Linked DNA regions of Homo sapiens: region 1 is linked to region 2. Evidence: promoter capture Hi-C in 16 types of primary human blood cells and fetal thymus (Javierre and others, 2016). All regions are on one chromosome and are shown on one strand. Each heading gives the region's core, a stretch centred on a gene start or on the middle of the fragment in contact. The rest is flanking DNA. Distances are from core to core; before and after follow the strand shown.

Region 1 (6,424 bases), core at 560-3,059, 600 kb after region 2:
AAGAAAGACAGTCTCCCCAGGAATCACTGACTCCCTGTCCCTGAGAAGGACAGGGAACTCATGGCCAGGTGTGGTGGCTCACGCCTGTAATCCCAGCACTTTGGGAGGCCGAGGTGGGTGGATCATGAGGTCAGGAGATCAAGATCATCCTGGCTAACACAGTGAAACCCTGTGTTTACTAAAACAATACAAAAAAAATTAGCCGGGCATGGTGGCGGGTGCCTGTAGCCCCAGCTACTCGGGAGGCTGAGGCAAGAGAATGGCGTGAACCCAGGAGGCAGAGCTTGCAGTGAGCCGAGATTGCACCACTGCACTCCAGCCTGGGCAACAGAGAGAGACTCCGTCTCAAAATAAATTAATTAAATAAAGCGGGAGGCTGAGACAGTCACTTGAGGCTAGGAGTTCAAGACCAGCCTGGCCAACATGGCAAAACCCCTTATCTACTAAAAATACAAGAATTAGCCTGGCATGGTGGCGCACCTGTAATCCCAGCTACTTGGGAGGCTGAGGCAGGAGAATCACTTGAAGCCAGGAGGCGGAGGTTGCAGTGATCTGAGATCACCCCACTGCACTCTAGCTTGGATGACAAAGCAAGACTCCATCTCAAAAAAAAAAAAAAAGTAAAGTGGAATTTTAGAAATCTAGGCACATTGCAGCAAAATTTTGGAATACCAAGGAAAAAAGGAAAATCCTCATAGTTTTCTGACCGAGAGAATAGGTTGTCACAATAGAATGAAAGTCAGCTTGACATCAAGACTTATCATCAATCCCGAATCCTAAAAGATAGTAGAGCAATTTCTCTAACATTCCAAAGAAAAAACTATTCGTAATCTAGGATCCAAGACCCAGCCAATCTAGCCTTAAATTGGGGGTGCAAAATAAAGACATTTTCATGCATATATGGGTTCATCCCACCTATAAACTCCCCCCAAAGAATCTAAGAAAATAAAAGAGATCAACTACAGTAAGTGCTGGAGGGAGAAATAAAGACAGAGATGATGCACTAAACTGGTCTTAAAAATATGAAACTAAAGTCTCCAATGAGCTCAGTGTGGTAGGGAATTGGTCCCAGGCGGGCAGGAGCAGCGGCGAGAGAACGGCGATTAAATTCACATTCCCAGTGCGGGCAGGACTGTCCCAAAGCAAGAACAGAGCTTTCTGCAAATGATCCGGTCAGACCTGTCTCACTTCTGAAAACAACCTCATTGGGATTTCTAATAAACTGGACTGATTCACTAAATAATTGGACTAGCAAACCAAACCAGTTTTACCTTTTTTTTTTTTTTTTGAGACAGAATCTCGCTCTGTCGCCCAGGCTGGAGTGTAGTGGCATGATCTCAGCTCACTGCAAGCTCCGCCTCCCGGGTTCACGCCATTCTCCTGCCTCAGCCTCCCGAGTAGCTGGGTCTACAGGTGCCCGCCACCACGCCTGGCTAATTTTTTGTATTTTTAGTAGAGACAGGGCTTCACCGTGTTAGCCAGGATGGTCTCCATCTCCTGACCTTGTGATCTGCCCACCTCGGCCTCCCAAAGTGCTGGAATTACAGGCGTCAGCCACAAAGCTCTTTCTCTTAACTTACATTGTCAGGAAACTGGTAACATAGATTGAATGACCCGCCCCAGTTTTTCACCCACACTCACACCCTCGCCATAGCCTCCCTTTCCCACCCCTTGACTTTGGGCTTGGCCAAAGGGATGCCAGCAGGCATGACACAGCAAAACTGGAAATGTGTTTGTGGGGTTAGATGTGCCGTCTCTCAGGGCCCTGCCATCAGCCAGAGACGAAACTGCCCCTGCTGGTCCCAGGAAGAGGATGAGAGGCATGTGGAGCAGAGCTGCCCAGCCAACCCACAAACTCATGAGTAAGAAATAAATGATTATTACTGTTTGCCACTGAGATGTGGGGATGGTTTGTTACACAGCATAAGTGTGACAATAGCTAACTGATACTCAGAGGGCAAGTGCCACTGCAGCAAACATGAGGAGGAATTCCTGAGCCTTTATATTAAAGTGGCTGCTCTCACTAGAGACACGATTGGACTCTGGCTGGTGCGATGACTCACACCTGCAGTCCCAACACTTGGGAGGCCAAGAGCAGAGGATTGCTTGAGCCCAGGAGTTTGAAAGCAGGCTGGGCAATGGATCAAGACTCCATCTCTACAACAACAACAACAAAAACACAGTGTTTTGAACTGAAGGAGCCATACAAAGGATGTCATACAGATTTATTAAATTCAAAACCAGGCTGGGCACGGTGGCTCACACCTGTAATCCCAGCACTTTGGGAGGCAGAGGTGGGCGGATTACCCGAGGTCAGAAGTTCAAGACCAGCCTGGTCAACATGGTGAAACCCCGTCTCTACTAAAAATACAAAAATTAGTCAGGCGTGGTGGTGCACGCCTCTAATCCCAGCTACTTGGGAGGCTGAGGCAGGAGAATTGATTGAACCTAGGAGGTGGAAGTTGCAGTGAGTCAGGATTGCGCCACTGCACTCGAGCCTGGGCGACAAGAGCGAAAGTCAGTTAAAAAAAAATCCAGAAAAACTACTTTTCTGGAATGCAAATCAGAATAGTGGCTGCTTGGGGATTAGGGGACAAGGGAAGTTGAGTAGACTGTAAAGGGATTGGGGGGAATTTTCTACAATGGTGGCAATGTTTTCTGCCTTGATTGGGGTGTTGGCTACAGATAGATATTTGTAAAAAGCCATTGAATTATATATTTAAGATCTGTGTGTTTTACTAAACTATTCCTCAATTTTTCAATTAGCAATAATCACGCCTCGGATAAACCTCATTGGCTATGATACTGCCACTGCACAAAGCTATTCCTCAATTTTTAAAAACATGTCTGTATGGAGTGGATACCCAGACCAGGGTGAGGCTGAGGTGCAAACAGGCCTACCTGAGGTGCCGGGCAGCCTTCCAAGACTCCAAGACTAGGTGGGCTCTGGGCAGACAAAGCCTCCCTCTCACAAAAGGTCTGGGAACCCTTTTCAGGGGGCTCAGAGTCCGGCCACATCTCTAGGTTTTCTGACGTCCTAGACACACCATGAGAAAGAACTTTGACTGGGCTCTCAATCTGGTTGGTGACCTAGGATATGGGGCTCATACCCAGGACCAAGAACCCAGGGCTTCTATCCAGAGCCTAGGACTTGGGGCTTATACCCACGGCCTAAAACCTGGGGCATATACCCAGGGCCTAGGACACAGGTTTATGCCCAGGGCCTAGGACACAAGGCTAATACCTAGAAAGAACACAGAACTTACACCCAGGGCCTGGAACTCGGGGCTTATAACCAGGGCCTAGGACATGGGGCTTATACCCAGAGACTAGGACACAAGGCTTATAACCAGAAAGGACACAGAACTTATATTCAGGGCCTAGAACCCGGGGCTTATACCCAGGGATTAGGACATGGGGCTTATACCCAGAGCCTAGGACACAAGGCTTATACCCAGAAAGGACGTGGGGCTTATACTCAGAGCCTAGGACACAAGGTTTATACCCAGAGCCTAGGACATGGGGCTTATACTCAAAGCCTAGGACATGGGGCTTATACCCAGAGCCTAGGAAACACAAGGCTTATATGCAGAAAGGACACAGGGCTTATACCCGGAGCCTAGGACATGGGGTTTAACCCAAGGTCTAGGACACAAGATTTATACCCAGAGCCTAGGACAAGGGGCTGAGAACCAGAGAATAGGACACAAGGCTTATACCCAGAACCTAGGACAGAAGGTTTATACCCAGAGCCTAGGACACAAGGCTTGTATCCAGAGCCTAGGACCCGGGGCTTCTACCCAGAGCCTAGGACCCAGGCCTTACACCTAGAGCCTAGGAGGCGGGGCTTACACCCAGAGCCTAGAACCCGGGGCTTATACCCAGAGTCTAGGACCCTAGGCTTATACCCAGGGCCTAGGAAGCAAGGCTTATACCCAGAGCCTAGGACACAAGGTTTATATGCAGAACCTAGGACCCGGGGCTTATACCCAGAACCTAGGACACAAGGCTTATACCCAGAGGCTAGGACGCGGGGCTCATATTCAGAGCGTAGGACACAGAGCCTGTATTCAGAACACACTAACCTGGAAACAGATGCTCTGAAACACAACTAGGAGAAAACCTGGCAAATGTCAGTCGTGATTGTCTCTTGTCCCCATGCAATAGGATTACAAGTGTTTTCCTTTTCTTTGTTCTTGTTGGTTCCTTATAAATTTAAAATAAATGATTAACCTCAAAAGTATTTGTGGACATGTGATTACATATAGAAGAGTGATTGTTAAATATTCTTTCTCAGGATAGCTTTATACTCTGAAAATCTCCTGTGGACCCTAAGGAACTTTACGTGAATTGCATCTATCAATTTTACTGTAATACAGATTAAATTTGAGGAGGTTTTGAAATATTTACTTATTTTAAAATAGTAATGATTCCACAGTGTCTACATATTTCAAAACATCATGTTGTACACGTTAAATAATTTCATTTTCAATTAAAAATAAGCTTTAAAAAGAATTCAAATTGCTCAATTTTTTAAATTAAAAACAACAAACCCATTGTTGTATGTTAACAATAAATAATTTTGTATGGAAAGCAACAATATCTTCTGCAAAATTAGTGAGTTGCATTGCCGCTGGCAAATCTCTAGGTAGATGTCTGAGCTGATTCTCAGATCTGCTTTTGCCTTCAATCTGTTACAATGTCACACATCACAGCATCTCTGGAAAATTCCACTGTATACTCATGGGAGAATAAGAATGAAAAAAGGCAAATCACATCTTACCATTATTATGAAAATAGTTTTGGCTACACTTTGAGAACTACTAATATAGAGTATAATCACAACTGTATAAAAATAGGCAAATAAAATTTCTGAGTAAAAGTGTCATGGTGCCACCTCGTGTCATCTTTAATTATTGCAATGCCTGCTTACCGAACTTGTCTGTGCACACGTATCAGGTTGGTGCAAAAGTAATCACGGTTTTTGTCTGGGCATGGTGGCTCACGCCTGTAATCCCAGCACTTTGGGAAGCCGAGGTGTGCAGATCACCTGAGGTCAGGAGTTCAAGACCAGCCTGGCCAACATGGTGAAACCCCGTCTCTACTAAAAATACAAAAATTAGCCAGGAGTGGTGGCGCACACCTGTAATCCCAGCTACTGGGGAGGCTGAGGCAGGAGAATCACTTGAACCCCAGAGGCAGAGGCTGCGGTGAGCTGAGATCACCCCATTGCACTCCAGCCTGGGCGACAGAGTAAGACTGTGTCTCAAAAAAAAAAAGTAATCGCAGTTTTTGCTATTGAAAGTAATGGCAAAAGCTGCGATTACTTTTGCACCAACCTAATAGTATATGGGGTGTGTGTGCATAATATGGTTTGTGCATGCAGGCTGCGGACATGTGTGGAAGTATGTGTATCAGTGGTGTGTGTGCAAGTATGTGTGAATATGGTGTGTGCATGTAGTGTGGTGTAAATGTGTGTGCACGCAGTGTCTACATATGGCTTGTATGTGCCTGTATTGCGTGTGTTGTGGATGTGCATGCATGCAGTATGTGGCATATGTGTGTGTTCCTGTGGGCCATGTGTGCATGTGATGTGTACCTATGATGTGTATGTGTACACATGATGCACGTGTGTTTGTTGGTGATGCGGGTCATATATGTGCATGTGGTACATGTGTATCATGTGAATGTGGGGCCTTGTGTAGTGTGGTAGGTGGTATACGTGTGTATGTGTTACAGTCTGTGTTGTGTGTGCGTGCAGTGTGTGTTGCTGCGGTGCGTGTGCGTGTGCCTGTGCCTGTGTTACGTGTGGCATGTGTTGTAGGTCTGTTTGTGTGTGGGGGAGGTGGTGTGTGTTTAGGACTCACACATGGAAGAATGGAAGTAATATTTCACCCCCATCTGCATGCATGCCTGCTCTGTGCTTCCCTTAACATTCAGAAAACATATTTTAAGCTGCCCAGAAAGTATCAGGCAGGCCTGAGTCCCAAGAGACTTCCATTCATTCCTCTCCGACTTCATCCTGTCAGCCTCCTGAGCTAGGCATTGCCTCCTTTTCACAGACTGAGAGGCACAGTTGCTTGCTTCAACTAACAAGTAGTGGATCCAGGATTCAGACGTGGGTCTTCTGACCAAGGAGGAATTCAATCATCTTGTACTAATGTTATAAAAATTAGCAATAAATGTGAATGTAACATAACATGAATGTTATAAAAATCGTTTATATGGTAGGATCAAAAATGTGTAAAAAGGCAAACAGACTTCTGAATAAAAATAATAGGACAGCATCAGCGGGGCACCATCTCCGCTCCCTGACTGTTTCCATCTTGTGTTTGTGTGCATTCAGACCACGCACAGTTAGGAAGGCATTCACTAGTAATCAGCAGGACACCCTCTCCACTCCCTGACTGTTTCCATCGTGTGT
Region 2 (6,161 bases), core at 3,229-5,728:
AAATCTGGAGGCTAGGCTGGGCTTGGTGGCTCACTCCTGTAATCCCAGCACTTTGGGAGGCTGAGGTGGGCAGATCACAAGGTCAGGAGATCGAGACCATCCTGGCTAACACGGTGAAACCCTGTCTACTAAAAGTACAAAAAATTAGCCAGGCGTGGTGGCAGGCGCCTGTGGTCCCAGCTACACAGGAGGCTGAGGCAGGAGAATGGCGTGAACCTGGGAGGTGGAGCTTGCAGTGAGCCGAGATTGCGCCACTGCACTCCAGCCTGGGGGACAGAGTGAGACACTGTCTCAAAAACAAAAAAACAAACAAAAAAAACACTGGAGGCTAGAGAGAAAAATCACAGTTTACCTATAGGGATAAAAATCTAATGAAAACAGATTTTTCACTTAGAAACCACAGAGGCACAACATTTTTCAAGTACTGAAGTAAAATAAGTTTTAACCCAGGGAAATGACATCGGCAGAATAGGAAGCCCTAGTCCCTTGTTCTCCCACAGACACATCAGCTAAACATCAAACTACAAATTGCTTTTGTGAGAATTCTAGACACTAAGAAGTTGTAGCACGCCAGGTGAGTGCAAGGACAGAGACACATCAAAATGGTAGAAAATTTTTGACATTTTACCCACCCTAGCCACTCCCACTGCCTAGCGTGGCAAGGTGTGATCAGGAAAAAAACACTCAGCTGCCAGTTTTTCCCTCAGGAGGGAAGAAGAGTGGGCTGTGCATCCAGTGTTTTAGCTTTTCATGGTGCTTTCCAAGGGCATGGTTTGTCTCATGAGACTCAGAGTACTGACTGGAATTAGTAGTTTGGATGCTAGATTGGGGGCTGCTGAGAACAAAGGTGAGCACTGGAGCTTGTTACATCACCAGAGAGACTGTAATACTGCAGACAGCAAGGGGAACAAGAGGTTACAATCTCTAAAGAAGAAGCAGGCAAAAACCTCATTCTGTGCACAAGCCCAGAGAAGTAGCATCCCCAGAAAAAGTTTGAGACAATCCCAGAATCTCTAGTTGTGCTAAATGATGACGGTCTTCTTTTACACAAAGCCAATCCTTAGAGACTGCTGGAGGGGACTGTTTTTTTCAAGTGGTCAAGTCTCAACAAAAGATCACAAGGCTGTAAAGAAAGAGTGAAACACATCCCAATAAAAAGAAACTAACCTCCAGAAACCAACCCTAAAGAAATGGAGATCTGGCCGGGTAAGGTGGCTCATGCTTATAATCCCAGCACTTCAGAAGGCTGAGGCGGGGGGATCACTTGAGGTCAGCAGTTTGAGACCAGCCTGGCCAACATGGTGAAACCCCATCTCTACTAAAATTATGTGAATTATCCACGTGTAGTGGTGGGCGTCTGTAGTCCCAGCTAGGTGGGAGGCTGAGGCACAATCCCTTGAACCTGGGAAGTGGAGGTTGCAGTGAGCTAAGATCACACCACCGCACTGTAGCCTGGGTGACAGACTCCTGTCTCAAAAAGATGCTAAAGGGAATTCTTTAAATTGAAAGGTAATAACAACATGAAACTATGAAAATATAAAGACTCTGGTAAAAAATACATAGATACAGAATCCCTTAGTATTGTAATGTTTGAACATAAACCATTTTTAAGCCTGCTGTAGAATTTGAAAGAAAAAAACAAAGCTAGGCCGGGCGCAGTGGCTCACGCCTGTAATCCCAACACTTTAGGAGGCTGAGGCAAGTGGATCACTTGAGGTCAGGAGTTCGAGACCAGCCTGACCAACATGGTGAAACCCTGTCTCTACTAAAAATACAAAAATTATCCGAGCACAGTGGCTAGTGCCTGTAATCCCAGCTACTCAGGTGAGGTAGAATCGCTTGAACTTGGGAGGCGGAGGTTGCAGTGAGCCGAGATTGCATCCAGCCTGGACAACAAAGCGACAGACTGTCTCAAAAAACAACAACAACAACAGCAACAAAGCTGGGCATGGTGGCATGTGCCTGTAATCTCAGCACTTTTGGAGGCTGAGGTGGGAGGATCACTTGAGGCCAGGAGTTCGATACCAGTCTGGGCAACATAGGTAGATCCTGTCTCTACGAAACATTTTAAAAAATTAAAAACTGACTGCTATAACTTTTTGGTAGATTAGCCCTTTTATCATTATGTAATTTTCCTGTCTCAATTTTCTTTGTCTACAAAGTCCACATTATCTGATATTAATACAGTAGACCACTTCAGTGCCTTTGACATTGAACTCATGGGTTCTGGGTGACCAGGGTCATTGTCCAATATCAAAAGAACATTCAAGGGCAGTCCCTTACTGGCAAGGTACTTCGTGATTTCACGGACAAAAGCATTAGTGGAACCAGTCCAGAAAAAGTTTCTCATTGTCCAGGCCTTTTGGTTGTGTGCCCAAGAACAGAAAGTTCATCCTTAACCTTTTCCCTCCAAGGCTTGGAGGTTAGCAGCATTGTACATAACAGCAGTTCTGATCATAAACCCGACTACATTTGCACAAAACAGTAGAGAGACTCCATTCCTTCCTACCTTTATTTTTTGTAAAGACAGCATCTCGCCATGTTGCCCAGGCTGTCCTGGAACTTGCGGTCTTGAGTGATCCCCTGACTTCGGCCTCCCAGGGTGCTGGGATTACAGGCATGAGCCACTGTACCCAGCCTGGCCTTTACCTTTCTTACAGCTCTCTGGGATTTGGCATTATTTCAGGTTTGCCAAGAAAATAACATCCGTTTCCAAGATTTAAAATGTTGCTGGTGTGTCCTTACTTGTTTTTCCTGACCTTGTGAATTAACAAGTTTTCAAACAATCTGTTACATTTGCTTTTAGTGGTACAGAGGAGGCAAAATACATTTTTCTTGCGCGTCCTATGTTGGTGGCTGAGACCCCTAAGACAAAAGACAAATTAACAAGAGCAAAACATACAAGTTTCTTTAATACAAGTTTTACATGACACAGCAGCCTACATAAGGAAATGAAGTCCCAAAGAAACAGTTAAAGTTGTGTATTTTTATGCTAAATTTGATGAAGTCACAGAGAAATATAAATGGACAAAGAGGATATGATCTAATAGTAATACACTGGGGGCAACTTAGCAAGGCCTGTTTGTTCAAGAGTTTTCTCTGTGACTGTGTGTCTTCAGCAATAAAGATGTTACTTTCCTCCAGGTATAGGGAGTGCAAATCTCACATGAGAATCTTACGACCTGCTTCAGGGGACGTTAGGAAATTCTTCCTAGGTTTTACAACCTGCTTCGTGGGAGATGTGTGGAAAAGTCCTTCCTGTTTCTGCTGTTTTCTCAAATGATGAGGTGCCATATTTTGGCAGTGAGTGTGTGTGTCCTGAACTATATCAGTACGTGTTAGGAGGGAACAAAATTAGATGTGTTGTACCCAATCTGCCTTCTTTTCTTCTTTACTGTATGCTTTGAAGGCTGCAAAATTTCCTCTAAATATTCCCTTTACCTAAATCTTTTCTAAAAAGTTTCTAGTCTTTTAAAAAATGTTTAGCTTAATTACATTGTCAAAGAATATGGTCTTGTGTGATACCAATTGCTTGAAATGTGTTGAGGCTACTTTACAGACTAGTATGAGATCATTTCTTAAGTAAATATATGCTTTTCCATGTGTTTTCTTCAGTTTTGGGGTGGAGTAGTCTACATGTCTATTCATTAACATAAAACTAATTTTGCTTTTCAAATATTTCATATCTATAGTGACCTTTTTGTCAGCTTTTCTATTAGTTACTGAGAAGGTAGGTTAAAAACTCTGAGGCCAGGGTGGTGGCTGACGCCTATAATCCCAGCATTTTGGGAGGCCAAGGCAGGAGCGTTGCTTGAGCCCAGAAGTTTGAGACCAGCTTGGGCAACAGAGTAAGATCCCATCTGTACAAAAAAGAAAGAAAACAAAATTAAAAATGGGTTCTGCCCATGTTTGCTTTATGTATTTTGTATCTTATGTTATTAAATACATAAAAGTTTAAAATATTTTATTTGCTGGTAAATTAATGCCTTTTTTTTTTTTTTAAGACACTCTCTTGCTCTTGTCACCCAGGCTGGAGTGAGGTGGCGCAATATCGGCTCACTGCAACCTCTGCCTCTCAGGTTCAAGTGATTTTCTTGTCTCAGCCTCCCGAGTAGCTGGGACTACAGGTGCCCGCCACCACGCCTGGCTAATTTTTTTTGTATTTTTAGTAGAGACAGGGTTTCACCATGTTAGCCAGGCTGGTCTTGAATTCCTGACCTCAGGTGATTCACCCACCCGCCTCCCAAAGTGCTGAGATTGCAGGCCTGGCCAGAGAGACGACTTTAGCCGGGGTAAGGGGCCGCCTGGGAACCCCGCGTCCCGCCTGGACACACCGATGACCTGCAGAGGCCACACCGTGGGCCACCTCAGCTGGCCACTGGCACAGCCTTGCCCTCTGGGGCCCCGTTCTCGCACACGCCGACGGCCTGGCCGCACTGCAGCCCCGCAGCCTTGTGGGAAATGTAGTCTGGCGCTCCGGGCTGTAAGCGCCGGTCGCGGCTGTGTCGGTCGCCGCTGCTCCCGCTCCTGCTGGGAGAGGGTGAGTGCGGGGCCGGTGGCGGGGGCGCGCGCCATCCGTGAGTCTTGTAGGCCCCCGCAGGAGGAGCTCCGGATTGCGGGGCGAGGCCCCAGCTTCCTGAGGGTTGAGGGGCGGGCCCGCAGCAGATGGGCCGGGGGTGCGGCCTCACTGCGCCTGTGGAGCGCCGGGCCTCCGGCTCCAGGTGCGCTCCCTCTTCCCCAGGAGCTGGCGGCGGGAGCACGCTGGCAGCTGAGTGTCCTTCGGCGCTGTCCTGGGCAGGCGCCGAGGTGGAATCACAGCCCCGGAGCAGCGGGGATGGGGGCTCGAACAAGGGCCACGCCGGCCACCACGGGTCAGGGAGGGGCCCAAGGTTCCAAGAGTCGCTCGGACCCGGGTTCCTCCCTGGCTTTCCCCAGCCGCGCGCAGCTTTGTCCCGGGACACGCTGCGACCGTGGAGCGAACCTAACCCGCGGACATCCCGGGGATTCTGGGCCAGAGGCTGGGTCTCCCTGTGCAGCATCTGCCCTTTGTGTAAACCGGGTCTCCGGACCCGCCCTCTGGATCTCATTCCGAGAGCGCTGGCGTGGGCTCCCCTCCCATCTCACAATAAGAATGGGGAGGCCAACCTGGTGCAGGTTTCGACCTCGGGGAATCTTTTCTTTTTTTCCTTAAGCGATTTCACTGTAGCACAACTGGAAAATTGAGATTAAAACAATCATTCAAAATCTATCTCCATCTGCATGGCAGCGTGGATATGTGTATAAGCATAGAAACACTTTGTACTTTGTTTTTAAACAGAAATATGAATATTAGCAGCTTTTTCTCCATCTATCTTTTAAAACTGAGTCATGAGATGCATTTGGTAAGGGGTTTGAAGTGCACAAATCTTAAGCCTTGTAATTTTTTACTGGCCTAAACACCCAATGAAGATAGAGAATACATCTGAAAAAAACATTGGAATATGTTGACACCATCTACTTATACCAGATTTTAAATAGAGCTACGTCATTTTAATGAGTGTGAGGGAAAGTATGGATGTGTCGTATTGAATCCTCTCCTTAGGTTTTTGTGTTAGGGTTTTCTTTTTTCTTTTTTTTTTTCAGTATTATAAACAGTATAGGCCATCTGGCTACATACATCTTTGCATTTTGTCTTATTCTATAAATCTCTTAAAGTGAAATTTCTAGGTCCAGGGTACAGTAAGGATTTTGATACCTCCTGTCTTATTCCCTCCAGAAAAGTTGCAGTTTATATAAACACTTGCAGTGTAAGAGTGCCAGATTTACCCACACCAACTGTGAATGTTAGTATTCTCTTGAACTTCTGAGAGGTGCAAAAGATAGGATTGTTTACATTTGCATTTTGAACACTAATGAATATTTTCACGCAGTTTGCATTTTGTATTTTAATTTTGTATCTGATACATAAGCATGTTTCCTGACTGTGCAGAAACGTCACAGGTTCTTATGGTCACACATGAAAACCTTTTCTTCACGTTTGGGTGTTTGACATCACTGGCAGAGAAGCTGTCTGTCCCACGAGATTACAAAAATGTTTGTAGTTTCTCTTAGTACTTTCATTTTTTGTGTACATTTTTATTTTTTTCCAAATGGTAAGCCTTTGTTACAAGTTACTTAGTAAT

What was found. Contacts are between HindIII fragments. The CHiCAGO score rates a contact against its expected background, and 5 or more counts as called.
Region 1: a contact is called between a fragment that was not itself captured here and the fragment with the promoter of ZFP2 in region 2, in 2 of 17 cell types (endothelial precursors and M2 macrophages). The highest score is 8.1, in endothelial precursors.

The regions. Positions count from the first base shown.
Region 1 is chr5:179,489,335-179,495,758 of GRCh38, forward strand. It overlaps LOC124901224 (U4 spliceosomal RNA), which reads right to left and starts at 2,823; the gene lies at 2,681-2,823. The HindIII fragment of the contact is 5,384 bases long and covers 1-4,501 here.
Region 2 is chr5:178,891,435-178,897,595 of GRCh38, forward strand. It overlaps ZFP2 (ZFP2 zinc finger protein), which reads left to right and starts at 4,479. Exons shown (of 5, transcript NM_030613.4): 1 at 4,479-4,540. RefSeq lists an enhancer at 4,192-4,381 and silencers at 4,492-4,601, 4,672-4,721. The HindIII fragment of the contact is 12,652 bases long and covers 1-6,161 here.